Linked DNA regions of Homo sapiens: region 2 is linked to region 1. Evidence: promoter capture Hi-C in 16 types of primary human blood cells and fetal thymus (Javierre and others, 2016). All regions are on one chromosome and are shown on one strand. Each heading gives the region's core, a stretch centred on a gene start or on the middle of the fragment in contact. The rest is flanking DNA. Distances are from core to core; before and after follow the strand shown.

Region 1 (3,076 bases), core at 146-2,645:
TGTGCTCAGAGTACTAGTATTCATAATTTATCAATAGGTCATCTGTCAATCTGCTATTGGCCCAGAAACCACTAAGGCAAGACAATAAGTCCATTAATAAACATAAATATTATTCTACTAGTTGACCTTGTGGAATTTCTAGGTCCAAGAAGCAAAATGAATTTAGTTCATTCACTCATTCACTACATAACTATTCACCAAACATCTTACATGTGTCAGGGCAGGGTACTTTGTTTAGCACAAGAAAAAAAGAGAGAGAATCAGAAATGAATAAGCTAGAGAAAGTTCCAAATTAGAGACTGTGGGGTTCTGTCTCCAAAAATAAAAGATTAATTCTATTGCAGGTAAGCAGAAGCTTATGACACCAAAAGCAAGACATAAGGAATGTTCATATACAATTCAACATATATTCTTTGTCATCTACTCTGTGCCCATTAATCATAATGGTCTTGTGAGAAATATTTTGTAAATCCTTATCTTTGCAAAGCATGTGACAAAGTTTCATATTCCATTCTTGTTATAAAGATGGAGAAATATAGGTAGGGTATTTTAAATTGACTCATACTTTTAGAGTGAATTATTCAACAAATATTTGTTTTCCCGATACTATATACTTCCTGTTTTGAAATTATCTACATGAAAAAGACTAATTCTTGCCCGTTTGTGAGTTTATAACCTATCATAGAAGTGAGCCAACTATGAACAGAACATAAGGCAGCAAGTATTAAGTAGAATAAAAGATGTGCAGACAAATGACTTTGGAATTTCAGAGGGTGGATAAATTGTTCTGGATGGTCAAGGAACACTAGGCATTTCTTATTTGAATTATCTATTATAGGAGAGGGAGAATTTCAAGAGAGAGAGATATGAGTAAAAGATATTCCAGCCAAGGGGATTATATGTAGAAATCCTATATGGAACAGAGAACTGTTCAATTTGCCTGCAGACCGGCCATATAGTTATGGTGATCTTGAACATCAGAAATTTGAACTTGGTACTGTAAGCCATGGGAATCAGTAAGGATTTTGGATTGGGGAAATGCACCTAGTGCTTATTGATGCACTGGTATTAGCTTGGAAAAGAGTCTGCACTGATCAGCACCTTTGTCATTTCTTGAATTAAGATGTAAAAGGCATGGTGCCAGAAGAGGAAACGGAGGCTGGGGGAGATAACAACCCATGTCAGGTCACAAGAGCAGTTGACAGTATAATAGTTTGAACCAGGATGTACTACTCATGACTTGTTAGCGATCTTTATGCTGCTATATCTGATCTTTATCAATTTATTATGAGGCTAAGTCAGGAAATGTAATTTCTCTATTTTACTGATGAGAATGTTGAGGAGGTCAAGCCACTTGTTCTGGCTCATGCAAGTAAGCAGGACAGATGGGAACACAACTGCAATCATGAGTCTTCAGAACACCTTATGTTCACATTCCCTCATAGTGCCACAGACCCTCCTTTTCTTGTGAACTGGATAATCACATACCTGCAGCCCCCTTCCCTTATTGATATCACCTTCAAAAATTGAAGAAATGTCAACATTGGGGAAGAAGAACACAGGTAATACAAAGATGTTTTTTGTTTCTGTCTCTAACCTGACCTTTATTTAAAAAAACAAACAATGGAAACTTACAGTTGTTCTGCAGGAGTTTGTCCAGGGAATCACGCCACTGCAGGGCCTCGTCCAGCGAGGTTCTACATCAATAATAAGGAGAGAAAAGGGGTATGGCGTAAGTAGGCATTGAACCACATGTACCAGCAATAACTACTTCCTGTTTCTCTTAGATGGAAATGATATGACTGCTGGTCTATCCTCAGGACAAGGAAGTTTAAGTTATTTTCTCTCTAACAATTGGGTTTGATGAGCTGGGTTTGCTTTCATACATCTTTATTGCATATCTTCATCTTTTTTGAACATTTTGGTTAGGTCTTTCCCTTTTTAAAAGTAGAGTTCGTTTGACATTAAGCTGTGTCTTGATAGTCTTATGTATCCCATGAAAGTTGTTCCAACTGTGGTCTTTTTTCCAAATATAACTTCATGAAATCCAGTTGTCCCATTACAGAGATTGAACTCCTGTTCTCTGCCTCACCAATACTGCATGTTAACCACCTAACTGAATCAGCAGAGGGCATTGGGGTTCCACATCCACATCCCAAAGCTGTCTAATTAAGGATAGTGGAAGATGTGAGTGTATAATGCTTTCCTTATGTTGGGATTGTGATCATAGCAAATTTACATGTTAAAAACGTAGGCGCATTTTTCCTACCCACTTATAACAGGATCAGACTTTTTTTTAAAGATTTACTCTTTCTAATTTAAAAAAAAAAAGAGTGGTTAATATATCCTGAACAGGAATGTTATACACAAATGCTTGAGATGCTGACTCAAAAGGAGAAGGTTATAGCCAACATATAATTTCTCCTTAGGCTGTTTCTATTTTAACATTTATATATGCAGAAACCCTGAAGCTATTTCATCTCAACCACCAATTTTTCTCTCACAGCAGGATGTGTCAAGTGGAGCTGATATTGTCCGGGAAAAATGGCTGACTGCACACTCTTCGGCTCACCCAGCTCGAACTCTTGCATTATGATGTGAGTTCTTCGTTGCCAAATCAAAACAGACTGACAAAGCATTTACTAGAATATTAAGGCCAGTTTTTCCTAAACTGGAATTTCCTTAGCTCTTAATTTGTTTATCAACTGTCCAGGCAATCAAAAAAAATTCCTGCTTCTAGTTTTTATACAATGATATTTCGGGGGGGGGGGTGGTTAATTATTCAGATTTGCAGCTTTGGTTGATATGACAGCTGCTTGTTCTACTTTTCATTTTGCTGTCCCAGGCGCAGAATCAGCCTCACTTTATTTATGTAAGGAGTCCAAGACGGCAGTAGGTTTTGGGCTAAAGTATTGTGAATAATCCCTTTACTTCTCTATTCCTCATTGCAGAACATGCATCGGTTGTGAGTCCTGATTATATGATTTTTCATAAACTTTCATGTGTTCACTCTTTGCAAGTTAAACTTGCCAAATTGAGGGTAACAAACCTTGTGAAATAATCTTGGGTGATTTCT
Region 2 (3,076 bases), core at 413-2,912, 270 kb before region 1:
TAACACTCATGAGTGCTCATTATGTTCCAGAGTATTTTATGCATTCAAAGAGTATTTTATGCATTCACCCCATCCTATAGGATAGGACTATTGTTTTCCTCATTTTACAGATGGGCAAACTGAGCTATAGAAAGGTAACTTGCCCAGAGGTCACATAGTTTGTAAGTGATGGAGTCAGGATCTGGCTAAGACATCCTGGCTCCAAAGCCTGTACTCTTAACCACTCTTCTATACTGCCCTGTAACTGCCAGGTACTGGGCTAGTGCTTTACATATACAGCGGGAGTAGGAGTTGTATTGTGGCGTATAAATTTGAGATGCCGTTGTTTCATGCCAAGAAGGTAAAATTAGATCTACTGGTTATATGCTTGATAGTTTACAAGGTATTTTCACATACCTCATCTCATTTTATTTTTCCTGTTCACTATGAGAGTGGTAAGGCAGGATTACTGTAAAGCTTTGGCTCTGCCGTTTACTGCCCTGTGGCACTGGGCAAGTGACTTGACATCTCTGATCATCTATTTTCTTAATTTTGCCTTTGCTTTAAAGGTCACTATGCTATATGTTGAAATATAGGAAAAAATGAGTTTATAAACCTGCATTCTTATCTGGGAAGACCCCTTATGTCTTGGGGTTCCCGAATGGGGAAAGTTTCCCTGTTCCAATATAGCATCAATTCCATTATACTTCCAAAGGTTTTCCTTATTCCTACTTTCTTACTTCTCAGGGGACACCCTGGAGTTACTGCCCCCACTGTCAATGGTGAAACCAGGGAGGGGAGGGCACCAAGAGGGCTTTCTGATGTGGTGTGAGCAATATATGATGGAGGACAGGAGGTAATTTAATATGCTCTCAAGTATGGGTTTATTGACCATATCAAATGTAGTTTTGCTTTCTCCAAGTCCAAAATTCAGGCTCTTTTTCTTCTTCATGCTTAATTACAAGTGTTTTTAATTAGATGAATTCCATTAATGGCCAATTAAGTTTCAATTTAGAGGTCATATATGAACACTGGCAGACCCATCACAGCTTTGGCTCTCTGCAAAGTGACCTGGGTCTGGGCTTCCATCTGCTTAATGTTGCTTTGCCCATTAAGAGAAGTTAATGCTTCGCTAATTGTTTGCCTTGGGAGAGAAGCCAACTTCTCTCCTTCCCTCAGCAGCCTGCACTTACACAACTATGATAAGAGCTGTCAGCCGGGAAGGGAAGAGAATAGGCATAAGGAGAGGGGAGGTCCAGGGTGCTATCAAGAGAGGAAGGGAGCCCAGAGGAATGGACTATCAGAAGGATTTAGAGTGGCTGTGGCTTGAGAGCTGGCAGAGGCTCAGCTTATGGCTATGTCTCATGAAGACGGTGATAGTTTGAGTTTGTCGGGTCAGTACCTGGAGGATGCTTAGGTGGTTTTGTAGGTGATTTGCCTGGTATTAGCATATGCTGCAGGTCAACTGAGAGACCTGGGGGCTGTTGGCACCATTCAGATTACTGTCTTATAATTGCCAAAATATTGCAATCTGAGGAAGGCAATTGGGGATTTTCCTTAATTAGTACATATTTACTATGTGATAGATACTGTTATAAGCACTTTAGCTGAATTATATCTTATAATTGTTACCATATTCTATAGTAGGTAATATTTTTATTTCTTTGGTTTTTTTTTCTTTTTTTTTTTTGAGATGGAGTCTCGCTCTGTCACCAGGCTGGAATGCAGTGGCGCCATCTTGGCTCACTGCAACCTCTGCCTCCTGGGTTCAAGCGATTCTCCTGCCTCAGCCTCTCAGCCTCCTGAGTAGCTGGAATTACAGGCCTTTGCCACCACGCCCAACTAACTTTTGCATTTTTAGTAGCAAGGGGGTTTCACCATGTTGGACAGGATGGTCTCGATCTCTTGACCTTGTGATCCACCCAACTTGGCCTCCCAGAGTGCTGGGATTGCAGGCATGAGCCACCGCACCGGCCTTTATTTCTATTTTACAGAAGTAACTGAGGCACAGAGAGGTTGAACACTTTTGGAAAGAGTGGGAATGGAATGCAACACCCGACTGCAGCTCCATGAAACTTGGGCCCATGATGAGTTCACACTAGCACAATGCCTGAGTGATTGAAAGAGTCACAGAGTCTTTTTATCCAAAAGGGTGAGATGTTTATTTTTGCTTAGTAAGATTAAAAAAAAAGCAAACATGGCTTTTTATGTCAAGCAGTGAAGCCACATGGCCACCAACAAATTTCCACACAAAGGTAATACTCTAACCTTAGACAGCTGGAGGAAAAGGGGATAAAAGGACACAAAAGGAACAGGACAGCGGCAGGTACAGAATCCTCTGTTACATACATATTCAACGTTAAATAATAGGGGGTGTTTATTGAAACAGAGAGTAAAAAACTCTATGGCATGTCTTCTCCTTGTCACCGTCATTCCTTCTAGTTTTCCTGAAGCGGCATCATTTTTCTGGGGAAATATTTGAGGTTCATTGTCTTGTACTAAGAAGGTGGAAGACAGATACACCAGGAGTAGGCTTAAGAGCGGAAAGTTTAATAGGCTAAAGAAAGAAGAGAGAGCTTCCTTGTGCAGGTGAAGGGGACCCAAGTGGGTTTCAGGGTTTGGGGCAAGATGCGGTTGGTTTTATAGAGGAGCTTGAGGAGGTGGTGTTTGATTTACACAGGGCATAGTGGATTGGTTGGACCAGGTGTGCTGTTTACATAGCCAGAGAAGGGGATGGCTATCCCACCCTAATCTTTTACTATGCAAATGAAGTCTTTACCTGGCTGGCACCACGACACCTGTACATGTGGCTACAAAGAAAAGGGTAGAGAAAATCTCTATGTTAAACATACCTGGCTTCCAGGTATCCATTTTCTATTGGCATAGCTACAAGCTTTTAGCTTGCTTATCTATGCTTGCAGCTTGATTTTTTAGGCTGCTTTTTTTTTTTTTTTTTTTTTTTTTTTGAGATGGAGCTTCACTCTTGTCACCCAGGCTGGAAGGCTGGAGTGCAATGGTGCGATCTCAGCTCACTGCAACCTCTGCCTCCTGGGTTCAAGTGATACTCCTGCCTCAGCCTCCTGAGTAGCTGGGATTA

Evidence for each region. The method cuts DNA at HindIII sites, captures the fragments that hold promoters and counts their contacts. A CHiCAGO score of 5 or more calls a contact.
Region 2: a contact is called between a fragment that was not itself captured here and the fragment with the promoter of RGS5-AS1 in region 1, in 5 of 17 cell types (M2 macrophages, monocytes, endothelial precursors and 2 more). The highest score is 16.9, in M2 macrophages.

The regions. Positions count from the first base shown.
Region 1 is chr1:163,160,280-163,163,355 of GRCh38, forward strand. RGS5-AS1 (RGS5 antisense RNA 1) reads left to right here and starts at 1,396. Exons shown (of 4, transcript NR_110699.1): 1 at 1,396-1,562; 2 at 2,507-2,597. RGS5 (regulator of G protein signaling 5) reads right to left here. Exons shown (of 5, transcript NM_003617.4): 3 at 1,636-1,697. The HindIII fragment of the contact is 14,512 bases long and covers 354-3,076 here.
Region 2 is chr1:162,889,071-162,892,146 of GRCh38, forward strand. No RefSeq gene overlaps it. Among named protein-coding and RNA genes, the nearest start is that of CCDC190, 29 kb to the left of the region's middle. The HindIII fragment of the contact is 2,416 bases long and covers 455-2,870 here.